3 separate regions of the Homo sapiens genome follow, and all the other regions are linked to region 3. Evidence: promoter capture Hi-C in 16 types of primary human blood cells and fetal thymus (Javierre and others, 2016). All regions are on one chromosome and are shown on one strand. Each heading gives the region's core, a stretch centred on a gene start or on the middle of the fragment in contact. The rest is flanking DNA. Distances are from core to core; before and after follow the strand shown. Region 1 overlaps NCAM1 (neural cell adhesion molecule 1). Region 2 has its middle 170 kb from the start of NCAM1. Region 3 holds the start of PTS (6-pyruvoyltetrahydropterin synthase).

The links. The method cuts DNA at HindIII sites, captures the fragments that hold promoters and counts their contacts. A CHiCAGO score of 5 or more calls a contact.
Region 1: a contact is called between a fragment that was not itself captured here and the fragment with the promoter of PTS in region 3, in 1 of 17 cell types (non-activated CD4 T cells). The highest score is 5.4, in non-activated CD4 T cells.
Region 2: a contact is called between a fragment that was not itself captured here and the fragment with the promoter of PTS in region 3, in 3 of 17 cell types (fetal thymus, non-activated CD4 T cells and total CD8 T cells). The highest score is 8.2, in fetal thymus.

Annotation. Positions count from the first base shown.
Region 1 is chr11:113,111,928-113,116,036 of GRCh38, forward strand. All of the region lies in intron 1 of NCAM1 (neural cell adhesion molecule 1), which reads left to right. Among named protein-coding and RNA genes, the nearest start is that of NCAM1-AS2, 150 kb to the left of the region's middle. The HindIII fragment of the contact is 1,572 bases long and covers 1,782-3,353 here.
Region 2 is chr11:112,793,248-112,797,826 of GRCh38, forward strand. No RefSeq gene overlaps it. Among named protein-coding and RNA genes, the nearest start is that of NCAM1, 170 kb to the right of the region's middle. The HindIII fragment of the contact is 2,125 bases long and covers 2,042-4,166 here.
Region 3 is chr11:112,223,473-112,227,804 of GRCh38, forward strand. It overlaps PTS (6-pyruvoyltetrahydropterin synthase), which reads left to right and starts at 2,956. Exons shown (of 6, transcript NM_000317.3): 1 at 2,956-3,054. The coding sequence starts at 2,972. RefSeq lists silencers at 2,827-3,236, 3,594-3,888. The HindIII fragment of the contact is 9,611 bases long and covers 1-4,332 here.

The sequences.
Region 1 (4,109 bases), core at 1,318-3,817, 890 kb after region 3:
TTTCTCATCGCAGATCTTATTTTTAAGCTTTATTGGCACATGTTTACTATGCGAAAAAGAAAATCTTTCTCCCAGAACATGGTTGCTTTAACTGAAAAATAATGAAGGTGGTCGGTTGCCTAAGGTAATGTCTTTGTGAACATTCTGTCTGTTGTTAGCCTGCTAGTGATTAGGTAGCTGAAGACTCCTTTTCAGTACATTTTCTTTGACCTTGAATTAGATGTAGGGCTAAGGCAGGACCAACCTGTGTAAGTGAGCAGTCACAAGAAGTTCTTTTTACCTGATGTTAGTCTTTTGTAATCTCACTTTTAAAAACAAACTTCTCTTTCTTATGTTTTGCCAGTGGAAATATTTACCATTCGAAACTTACTCTTTGGGAGTCTAATGAATGTTATTTCCTTTAAAAGGCACAATAAATATTTTCCTTCTGACCTCTAAAAGTAGATGGCAGAAAATAAAATTGATTGTTTTCCTCATAAATTTGAATAGACATATTACCTCTGTTTCAAAAATGACATCAGCTAGATGACTTCCCAGGCTAATGACAGTTTTCCTGCCAGACAGAACACTTGATTTACCATTGTCATGAAGTCACCGTGCCACCGTGTTTCCCATTCCCATTGCATGCTTGAAGAATTGTGATACTTAAGGTTTCCTATAATGAAAAATAAGAAAAAACTGGACAGGGCTCATTGTTCACCATTATGTAGAGAAAGATCTCTCCACAGCAAACATTATGAGAGTGTCTTCATTGGTCTTGCTGAACGTGGCCAGCCTTCTCTGTTCCCCACCCTGTTAACACATTCTCTGCCTCTTCTATGTGGATTTTTTTTAAGTACATATTAGTTTCATGAAGGTCTTTCTGCCTGGAGAAGTGGAATCCCCCAACTTTTGGAAAGCCTTTTAAAGTCTCCATGAGTCCAGCCAGGTGTGGTGTCTCACACCCGTAATCCCAGCACTTTGGGAGGCCGAGACAAGTGGATCATTTGAGGTCAGGAGTTCCAGACCAGCCTGGCCAACATGGTGAAACCCCGTCTCTACTAAAAATACAAAAATTAGACAGGCATGGGGGTGTGCACCTGTAATCCCAGCTACTCAGGAGACTGAGGCAGGAGAATTGCTTGAACCCAGGAGACAGAGGTTGCAGTGAGCCGATATCGCACCACACTGCATTCCAGCCTGGGGGACAGACCAAGACTCCGTCTCAAAAAAATTAAATAAAATAAAGTCTGCATGAGTCCAATTAGCTACCGTGTTTCATATCTTTTCTGTATCTAAAATTGTTATCCTCTGACCTAGTAGAAAGGGTCTAAACCTCTGCTTTCTTTTTAGATAAACCCATAGATTATTTTGGGGGGTGGTTGTGAGGTTTTTTTGCAAATTAGATGATCAGTAAGTCCCTAGCGCCATAGACTGGGCCAGATGCACTGGGCAATGTAAAGAAATAAGCAATGTCCTGCCCTATAGGAACTTGCCATTGTTCATTTGAATTTGTTGACTTTGTTTCTCTCTGGAATTATATATAATTTCCTGTTTGCTATGATCCTTACCTTAAAATAAACCTGCAGTATTATCCCATTCACTCCTTGGAATGTTCTGATTTATGACTATTCAGCAGTTCTGTCCCATCAATAGGCTCTCAGGAATGTCCTAAATTGGCAATCTGTGGACTGGTGGGTTCCATCTAGAGCCTGATAGGGTGGAACCACTAGACAAATGGAGAGTGTCTTTTGTTGTCGTTGCTTGTTTCAGCATCCCTGGAAGGATAATTTACTTTCCAAAGCTTCATTAGCTAAATGAAACTCAAGTCTTGCCTCTTTAGTTTAAGACAGGTTCTTTTAAAAAAAAAAAAATCTTGATGTGTCTTAGATAGATATTCTCTTGGATTATCTTCCCTTTTACATGATACAGGGCTTTAAAATCAACCTTGTGTTTGACACGATCAATGGATGGAGATCCAGGAAGAGGACTGGTGCTTTAGGATTTCACTTCACATTGCTGTCCTCTGCAGAGCCTTCTCTTCCAGTTGACATGCTGAGGGACTTGGAAAGGGCTAACAATCTGCTTTTAAACTAGCGATGTATTCTGATGCCCAGTGCTTCAAGCTGTTTCCCTTTTTAGGCTTAAGTTTGCCTGGAGAGGAAAGTGGAGACCTTGAATATTAAACTCTTTTTGCCTTGTGTGATTTGATGGTGGTTTTGTGGAGAATTATTTGTCCTTAGGTGGACTCTCAGCCCAGTTTGGAATGAAGTCATCATAGCCACTTGTGCCAGGCCCCAAACAACCCATATAGCTGATCTTTTCCCCGGAGTCAGAGACACAAATAGAACTGTTTCAGAGCATTGCAGAGGGGAACTCTAGAGAGGTTTGGCCGTGGCCACTCTCCTTTCTGCTTTTAAGATGAGGTGCATTGTGCTTGGACTGACTCCACATTGGTAACCAGGAGACAAGCAGCTCTAGAAGATGTTGCTCCTAGGGCATGGGGCTTCTCTGCCTAAGAAGCCTTAGGACATTTAAGCAGCAGGAAAAGAAAGGTCTGTTTTGGCTTTATCTAGCCATGTCACTGAGTATAATGACCCCACGATTTCTTCTTCTTCACATTCATTTTGATGCCAATTCTTTTTTGCTGTGCTTGGGGATTTTTGTTTTTCCTCTTCAGGCACTTCCCAGGGTTCTGCACAAGTGTCCTCTGCAGTGGGGTGGCATCCCTGCTCCCTCTGGTGGAAGGCCTGAGCCACAGTGCTCTGAGAGCACCTCACTCACTGCAGTGAAGCAAAAAATCCTGCCTAGCCTGTGTGGCGCAGCTTTCTATTTTGCAGTCATAACCTTTTACTCAGCTAGTCAACAACAGGTATTCTGTGACTGCCCAAGGCTGGAGAATCAACAGTTCCTATCTCATGGAGCTTGTATTGTAGACATGCATCAAAATTTTGTATCTGAAGTGCAAATACCAGAAATATATAAATTAAGACGAGCTCTCCTCTCCCCCACTGAAAATAAAGGAAGTCTTACTCAATTCTTGGGGGGAATTGCACCCAACTCACCAATGTTTTGTAGTAGGAAATTCAAAAATTCAGAAAAGACCGTTATAAATCTTAGGTTATTTTTCAAGAGACATAACTAATAAATAGTACCTGGGGAGGCCCCTGGACAGTCAGCACCCCCCAGCTGGTAGCATCCTGGGAGCAAGGTGGCTGTGCCTTTTGAGTTCCTGAGTTGCTGTTACTTTAGCACTTTACACATTGCCCCACCAACCAGCTGAAGTGCAGAAGGAGTGCAAAAAAAGTTACTTTAACCCAGATGTCCATCATAAAACGTACAAAACAGCTTGGAAATAGGTACTGTGTCAAGGAAGCTTTATTATGATAATATTACTAATGGAAAGACAAAAGTTGAACCAAGATATATTGCCTCCACATTCCTGGTAAAGGTTCAAAACATAAGCACAGAGTTACTAATGTGTGAGCTGTCTTTTCCCCAATTCTGTGCTAAGGAAGTGAAATTGCCATCAGTTTTAGTTTTTATAATTTCTGAGCATCCACATGAAATAGCAAGAAAGAAAATACCCTACCCTCCACCTCACTGGCAAGGGTGCCAGCAGTGTCTTTTAGATTCTGTAAGGGACACGGTGACCAGAAAGTCAGGACAAATGGATTCTACCATTAGCCAACCAACAAAATGAATTTTCAGATTGTTCTAGACATGAGAACAAAAGATCAGAGAAGCCACAACAATGAGATACCTGTTACACATGTATTCTTGGATCTCCTTCTTCCACTCTGTGGATGCTCTGAAGGAGGCTTTATTTACATGCACTAGTCGAGAAACAGTTTTTGTTGAAAACAGATAACAGTTACGAGAATCTGGCCAAGCTTAGACTCACAGATTCTGCCCAGCTAAATGGTGGGATGTCTCTTTCTTAGTTTTTAATTGTGGGAAAATACACATGACATAAAACTTGCCATCTTAACCATTTTTAACTGTAGAGTTTAGAATATGGATCTCCTTTAAGGAGGAATTAGGCTACTAACAGAATAAAAAGTTTAATTCTTTCTCTCATAAGTTTAAACTGACTTCTCTAATTCCCAAATAGACACAGGTTTACGGCA
Region 2 (4,579 bases), core at 1,854-4,353, 570 kb after region 3:
AACGAACATACAACACAATGTAGTAAGTTCTACAGCGGAGCTCGTACAATATATACAAAGGACTCTGAGGCATTGGGAGGGCTGGAATGGAGCAGAAGGCAGACTTAGTCTTCCCCTGTGCCTAGAATAGGCTCACATTACAGACAGAATGAGGATGGCATTTGTAGTCCACATAGCCTAGCACTTAACTAGGTACTGCCTTCTGCTATTCAATTTAGCTGTTGCATACGAGATGTACCTCCCTCATCTAGATTGTAAGCACCATGAGGAGAGCAATTCTATCTTATGTTTGGGAAATTCTTCACAGCACCCAGCCAGATGCTAATCCCACTGGAAGTCCTCAAAAGGATACTTGGTGGATGACTCAATCCAGGGGATCATACAGCTATGAAGAATACCTGGCCAGCTACCAAATCCAGGCATCTGTGAGGTCTTGGAAGGAGTCTGATGGAGGTAGCAGGTGAAACTCTCTAGGTCAGAGGCAATGACATAACCCCAATATCCCTTTAACACAATGTTATTTCAAACATCCTTACAGTAAAAACACTTTTGTAGCCTCCAGGATATCCATATCCAAGATTCGGTCATTTTTTTTCTTGCAAATTTGTTACAAAAACTTCCAACACAATGAAATTATTTAGACAGTTTCTTGGAATTCACTGTTCACTTTAACAGAATTGAACCTAGAGTTGAAATGGACACAAACCTCACGGGTTATAGATGGGAATATTTTTCAGGGATTGTGGCATAGACAATCGGTTTAGTGAGGAAACACAGGTATTATAGGAGAAAGGGGAAGAAGGAAGGAAAGATGAAAGGGGAAAGGGATAGTGAGGAAGGGCAGGGATATGAGGTGAGTGGAGATAAGAGTGACTATTTGCAAAGATTTCCTGTTTGTCTTCACTTTCTTCAGATGTGGCTTTTTTTTTTTCTGGTCAGGGTGACTTGGCTCAGCCTAATGGGTTTGTTCTACTATCATTTTTATTGTTTACATCAATGGCTCACAATTTTGGCCACCAGTCAGGTGGGACCTTGGAAAGGCAGAGGACCCAAGGGTGCAAAGCCAGAGCATTTCTGGGTGTAGGAATTCAGAGAATGGATCACTTTAGAAACTGGGACTGTGAGGTCAGGACTCCATTCCTTCACATCTGGCCATAGAAGGTTATGACTGGTTTCCAAAGACTGGAAAGTCTTTGGCCTTGGGTACCAAGGACCTGCCCAGAGCATTGTTGGGTTATGACTACTACTATAATTCAGAGATGGTGGCTGAGCAAGCCTGTCAAAGATGAAAATGATGTTGAACTCAGGGCCAGCAGTGTCCAACAGCCGCATGCTGCCGGGTGTGGGTGTGTGGAGACAGCTGGGTGCAAATTCACAGCCAGAGAAAATTCTTGGGGATTTTCAACTGTCTTTTTTTCCCCCTCCAACAATGAATAGGGAGAACCCCAGACAGTAGTAAAAATAGCTCACACTCTCCCTCAAACCTGTCTGGCTTGAGTTTTTGGAAGGCCTGGGGGAAAAGTCACATTTGAAAGTGGAATTTATTTTGGTGATGATGACAGGAAGTTCAGCACTGAGGACAGAAGGCAGCTTTACAGAATAAAAGCCCTCTTCATTATACTATTTTTAAAAATTCCTTCCCACTGCCCCTCCAAAACAAACTGTTCCTTGATACTTTTATTACATTAATGTAATAAAAGTACACTGGAACAAATGCTTTTTTTTCTTCTTCTTTTTTTTTTTTTTTTTTTTTGAGACGGAGTCTCACTGTATCACCCAGGTAGAGTGCAGTGGCACAATCTTGGCTCGCCGCAACGTACACCTCCCAGGCTCAAGAATTCTCCTGCCTCAGCCTCCCAAGTAGCTGGGATTACAAGCACCTGCCACCACGCCTGGCTAATTTTTGTATTTTTAGTAGAGGCAGGATATTGCCATGTTGGCCAGGCTGGTCTCAAACTCTTGACCTCAAGTGATCCCCCAACCTTGGCCTCCCAAATTGCTGGGATTACAGGCATGAGCCACCATTGCCAGCCAGAACAAAAGCTTCTTAAAAGGCAGCAGTTTTCCTGAGAAGTTTTAATGTGGCGGGGTAAGTGTATGTCTCAGTCTCAGCCCTGCCACCTACCGGTGGTGGGAACCCAGCACAGGGTTGAAACACCTAACCTGACAGGCGGTTTCCTCATCTCTAATTCAGGATAGACCCGTCGGCCACGCCAACCTGAATGGGTTGTTATGGAGATAAAATCAGAAGATGTCTCTGAAATTGCTTTGTAAACTGTGAAGTTGCATCCACATGTAAAGCATTGGTATTAAGGAGCTGAATAAAGCCTCCATGGCAAGGAAAACTGTCAGTGAGAAGTAGAAATACTCCCCCTCACAGCGACGCCACAGGGGTGACAGCGAAAGAACAGCTGCTCAGCACCCGAGCTTGTCGGGAGAAAACACAGTGTCATCAGAATAAACCGCATAAATAGAACCCTCTTGGAGTCGTGCACCACCTGTTCCCACAGTTACCATCAGCCAGGCTTCACCACAACCCACCTACTCACGGAGGGCTGAGAGGACAGAAGAGAGGACCCTGTTTTACAGAGAGGTAAACTGAGGCCCAGGAGGGAAAAGCTCTTTCTTGTGGTCACACTGTGACCATGGACTTGAAAAGTCCCAGACTCATCCATTCCAGCACCAAACCCCACCTCCCTCATGATCCTCCTGACCAGCGCAGACCTGCTGCCAGTCAACTGCCAGCCCCCAAAGAGATCACTGGCCTGAGTTCTGAAACAGGCCACCCCCCAGCTGACCTGCTGTGAGCCACCCCTCCGAACTGACAGATGTACTCAGCCCGCAGCCTGCTGGCTCCGAGGACCTGACCTCTTGTCTTAGGAGGGAGTTGGACTGATGGGTAACACCTGCTTACCCCTCGGCAGGGCTGAGAGTCTTTCAGGCAGAACCAGTTTGGTCTATCTCTAACCCGCTAGTTGTTTGGAACCAGTGAACACAGAATGGAAAACAGAGTTCTAAATCCCCTTCACTCTTGAGGGGTCTTGGAAAACGCCGCTGCCAGGAGCTGGTATAAATCAGAGTGTTCTGAATGAATTAGGGATCCCATATTCTTCCCTCAACCCCAGCAAACCTCTTGGAGAGAGGCCCTGTGTGAGAGCATTAATAAATCACAGCTCAGTATAGCAGGTCGCTGGGCTGTTGGCACACTGTGGCTTTCCCCGGAGATGTGAGCGGCCGTGCAGAGCCTGTCAGAACTGGGGCTCTGAAGCCAGCCTGAACTTCTCACCCTGCCCTCGGCTGTGTCACCACACTGCTGCCCTCACTGGTGCCTCTTCTCCGCGGTGGCCAGCGATGCATATTATTCATTCAGATGTAGCTCCTGCTTAGAATGCGTGGTCAGCCCAGACTGCCCAGCAAGGGCCACCTGAGTTTTACTGGAACTCTGCTGCACTGTTTAGTTTACTCTTGATCCGGGCTGCTTTCATGCTATGAGGGCAGAGTTGAGTAGTTGAGACAGAGACCGCGTGGCCTGCAAAGCCTAAAATATTTACTGCCTGGGCCTTTACAGAAAAAGTGTGCCATTCCTGCATTATGTAGTTATCTTATTTAATTCTAACAATTACACTGTGAACTTGGTATGAGGACTTCTCTTAGAGGGGGAGAATCTGAAGATCAGTGTTTTAGTAACTTGCCCAAAGATGGACAACTGGTAAGAGGCAGAGCCCTTGCTCAGACCCTAGGTGTTTCCACTTCAAAGTCCAGATATACAATTCTGTCCCTCTGGGACACGTCCAGTCAACAGGCAAGACATGTTAGCACTACGGTGAAAGGTCTCATCTTTCTTGAATGGGAGAACCAGGTTTGAAACCATCATTTTGAACAAGGACTGGTTTAGGCCTATGTCATCCCCAGCCTTTCCCTCAGGTTCCAGATGGCAAGAAGCTGCTCTGAAGACCTACCAGGCAGGAGTCACAGCTTGTAAATAAACCTGAAACCCAGAAGAGCCAGTTAGGCTGGAGCAGCCCCTGGCCAGGCCAGGCAGAGTTACCATGACGACAGAGTCATTTCCATCACAAACCCTGCAACAGGCTTCCAGAAGGTGATTAATGGTTGACCTCTGGGGGCTGGGAACTCTCCCGGGGAGTATTCTTTCTAGTCTGGTGCAAAGCTTGGACCATCTACTTCTCTGCTCTCTGGTGGAGGTGAATATTGTAGTTGAGGATGCAGAGATAAAGCACCCCATCCCCTGACCTCCTAAATCCTGAAGTCAACCCAGGAAGCACCCTGTGAAAACCATGCTCCAGCCTTGAGCAGAGGCAGGCTAATCCAAGAAACTCAAGGGCAGACAAAAGAAAACAAGGGAAGCCAAGGGAATGAGTGAAAGACTATATAAGTTGGTTCATTCTTGCTGGATAAATGGCACCCACTCACCAAAGGGAGAAGGTACAAAAAAGAATTCAGCGAGGCAAGAAGCAGGTAGTGAAAAAAGGCGGGGGAATCCTACCTCCTTTGAGTCCAGAGAAAAGCCTTTTCTACAAACTCAAGAAGAGGGGGCGGAGAAGGACGGGCCGCCTGCCAA
Region 3 (4,332 bases), core at 1,706-4,205:
ATAAAAATAATTTTGCAGAAATTTCTCTTACTCTTTCACTTTATTTTGATTCTTTAAGCTGGTTTTGGAATGAGCAACTATTTGTGTAACCACTGACTGTTAGAGAGTATTTATCACTGAGGCAGTCCATACCTGGGAAATAATGTTTCTGTTCTGAGTGATCTCGCAATAGTAATTCACTTATCTGTGGCTGTATTTTCTTATCTGTAAAGTGAAAGTATTGAACTAAACAGTCTCTATCTCGAAAATCTCTAAATGTTATTTGAAGTTTTTTCTTTACAGTACAATGGGGTAGATGAGACAAACATCTGAAAATGTATGGAGAGTGTTTGCTAAATAACCTGTTAGTAGTTTAATGCAGAACAAACAGAATATATAGCTGTAAATAGGAGATATTTGAGGGAAATCACCATTTGAGCTTATTTCTATCGCCCCCATGATTTTATCTTTCTTTTTACAGGAAACTTTTCCAAGCCTGTTATTAATCAGTGACTTGTCCTGCTTTTCATCATATACAGTGATGATTTTTCTCATATAGAGTGGAGCTGTCCTCTCCAGTACCTGGAACAATGCCAGCCACATAGTAGATGCCCAATAAATATTTAGTGAAAGAGTGAATGGAAGCAAGAGGTGACATGATTCTGGGAACTGTGTGTAGTTTGGTTACTCTTGTGAGTAGATGTGAGGAAACAAGATCCTTTCACTCTCAATGTGTCTACACTGGCAGAAGAATTGCTAATATGTGTTTAGGGGTGTCTGTATTCACACTATGCCAACCCAGAGTAATAAATGGGTCCATACATGCTTGTGGATAAGAATGGCTTTAGAATTTCCCTTAGTAAGGATCATTACACAACAGTCCAAAGGACTGTTGTCACGTGGTCCTATTTGTGCTCTCAAATTCTTGCTCTTTAAAAATTTTTTTTTAAAGAAACGGTATTAATCCTAAGCAAAAAGAACAAAGCTGGAGGCATCACGCTACCTGACTTCGAACTATACTACAAGCCTACAGTAACAAAAACAGCATGGTATGGGTACCAAAACAGATATATACACCAATGGAACACAACAGAGGCCTCAGAAATAACACCACACATCTACAACCATCTGATCTTAGACAAACCTGATAAAAACAAGAAATGGGGAAAGGATTCCCTATTAAATAAATGGTGCTGGGAAAACTGGCTAGCCATATGTAGAAAGCTGAAACTGGATCCCTTCCTTACACCTTACACAAAAATTAACTCAAGATGGATTAAAGACTTAAATATCAGACCGAAAACCATAAAAACCCTAGAAGAAAGCCTAGGCAATGCCATTCAGGACATAGGCATGGGCAAGGACTTCATGACTACAACACCAAAAGCAATGGCAACAAAAGCCAAAATAGACAAAAGGGATCTAATTAAACTAAAGAGCTTCTGTACGGCAAAAGAATCTACCATCAGAGTGAACAGGCAACCTACAGAATGGGAGAAAATTTTTGCAATCTACCCATCTGACAAAGGGCTAATATCCAGAATCTACAAAGAACTTAAACAAATTTATAAGAAAAAAAATCAAACAACCCCATCAAAAAGTGGGCAAAGCATATGAACAGACACTTCTCAAAAGAAGACATTTCTGCAGCCAACAGACACATGAAAAAATGCTCATCATCACTGGCCATCAGAGAAATGCCAATCAAAACCACAATGAGATACCATTTCACACCAGTTAGAATGGCGATCATTAAAAAGTTGGGAAACAACAGATGTTGGAGAGGATGTGGAGAAATAGGAATGCTTTTACACTGTTGGTGGGAGTGTAAATGAGTTCAACCATTGTGGAAGACAGTGTGACGATTCCTCAAGGATCTAGAACTAGAAATATCATTTGACCCAGCCATCCCATTACTGGGTATATACCCAAAGGATTATAAATCATGCTACTTTAAAGACACATGCACCTGTATGTTTATTGTGGCACTATTCACAATTGCAAAGACTTGGAACCAACCCAAATGTCCATTAATGATAGACTGGATTAAGAAAATGTGGCACATGTACACCATGGAATATTATGCAGCCATAAAAACGATGAATTCATGTCCTTTGCAGGGACATGGATGAAGCTGGAAACCATCATTCTCAGCAAACTATCACAAGGACAGAAAACCAAACACTGCATGTTCTCACCCATAGGTGGGAATCAAACAATGAGAACACATGGACACAGGGTGGGGAACATCACACACCGGTGCCTGTCAGGGAGTAGGGGGCTGGGGGAGGGATAGCATTAGGAGAAATACCTAATGTAAATGACGAGTTGATGGGTGCAGCAAACCAACATAACACATGAATACCTATGTAACAAACCTGCACGTTGTGCACATGTACCCTAGAACTTAAAGTATAATAATAATTAAAAAGAAAAAAGAAAAAGAGAAACGAGGGTCTTGCTCTATTGCCCAGGTTGGACTCCTGGGCTGAAGTGATCCCTCTCCTTCTCAATAGCTGGGGCTACAGGAGTGCGTCACCACGCCCGCCTGGCTCAATTCCTGCTCCTTTTGGTCTATAAAGCGGACTGTGGCCCTGGGGTTCATCCGATTGAGTCACCAGTCACTGGAGCTTTACAGGAGAGAGTGGGAGAGGAGGCTCAGAGAGGTCACTCAGGACCCAAAGTGTGCCCAGACGGGCCCTAACTACGTGGCGTGACCTCAGGCGGGGCAAACAGATCAAGGACACAGGGTCCCCACCCACCCTGACCACTCCAGGGTATGCTTAGGTATCCCAAATCTTGCTCTCCGAAGAGATTCAGATAGCGAGAGACACCCTTAACTGTCTCCCGAGGCCGGGATTGGCCAGAGCGGAAGCGGAGACGCACTTCCTAGGGGCGCGTCTGGCACGCACTGCGCAGCCGCGGTGGGAGGAGGCACCGGCCGCGCGGCGGGAGGAGGTGCCGGCCGAGCACCGCAGACAGCGCCGGGAAGATGAGCACGGAAGGTGGTGGCCGTCGCTGCCAGGCACAAGTGTCCCGCCGCATCTCCTTCAGCGCGAGCCACCGATTGTACAGGTAGGGTGTGCACACAGGTACAGCGGCGGGCGGTGGGCGCCGGGCCCCGGAACGTCACCGGGGCGGGGCCGGCGGGCGTGCTGACGTCGGGCCCGGGAGGGGCGCGGGGGCTGCTGGGGCGACGCGCGCTGGTCGGCTTCGTGGGGCTTCGGACGGCCTCCAGCATCCTGATGGGGGCTGGAGTGTCCCCAGCCCTGGAGGGGTGGGGGAGCTTGATGGTTAACGGAGCCGACTGCGGAGGGCGATGGCCCACGTCTGGGTGCGGGGCCCACACCCGGTTCTGCGACTCGAAGAAACGTCTCTGCCCCTAGGAGTCCCTTGGTGTAGACCACAGGGTTGCTGTGAAACTCAGCAGTGTTAAACTCGCCTATGTTACACAGTACCTGGCGCGGCGTAGACACTCAGTAAATGTTAGCTAATCTTGTATGCCAGGAGCATTGGCCACCATATCTAATGTAATTACAAGGCAAATTTTAGCCCCTTTTTTACCAAAGACTGGATGAACCCAGTCCCTGGTGGTCTAGTGGCTAGGAGAAAAAAAAAAAAAAATGAGCCCAGACGTTCAGTTTCCGAAGCAGCATAGTTGGGATTTGAATCCCGATCATACATACTGCTTGCATGCACTGACGAGTTGATTTTGAGGAATTTTACCACGCACTAACCAGCTCCACCCTCTGGCCCTCCGTATCGTCGTCTGTGAAATGAGGATGACCATCGCTATCTAACAGGATTCATCCCTCCATTCGCTAAACCAGGTTTTGTTTCGTGCTTGTCAGGGCTTGTGCTAGGTAACGGATGCATCAGGGATCTTGTATGGGGTTTCCAATCTGGCCTATTTTGTGGAGGGTACACTGAGAAAATTTTGTGCAAAAGACTTTAGCACTCTAAATACAAGAAGTGGCTGAGCAGGAGAAAGTGGGGGTGTGTTATTCCATTTTGCATTGCCACAAAGGAATACTGAGACTGGTATTTTATAAAGAAAAGAGGTTTATTTGGTTCTGCAGGCTGTACAAGAAGCATGGCACCAGCATCTGCTTCTGTTGAGGCCTCAGGGACCTTCCACTCATGGTGGAAGGCGAAGGGCGAGCAAGCAGGCAACTCACAGGGCAAGTGAGGGAGCAAGAGAGAGGAGAGGAGGTGCCAGGCTTTTTTTAACAACCAGCTCGCCCATTGACTAATAGAGCGAGAACTCACTCATTGCTTCAGGGAGGGCACCAAGCCATTCATAAGGGATCCACTTCCATGAGCCAAACATCTCCCACTAGGCCCCATCTCCAA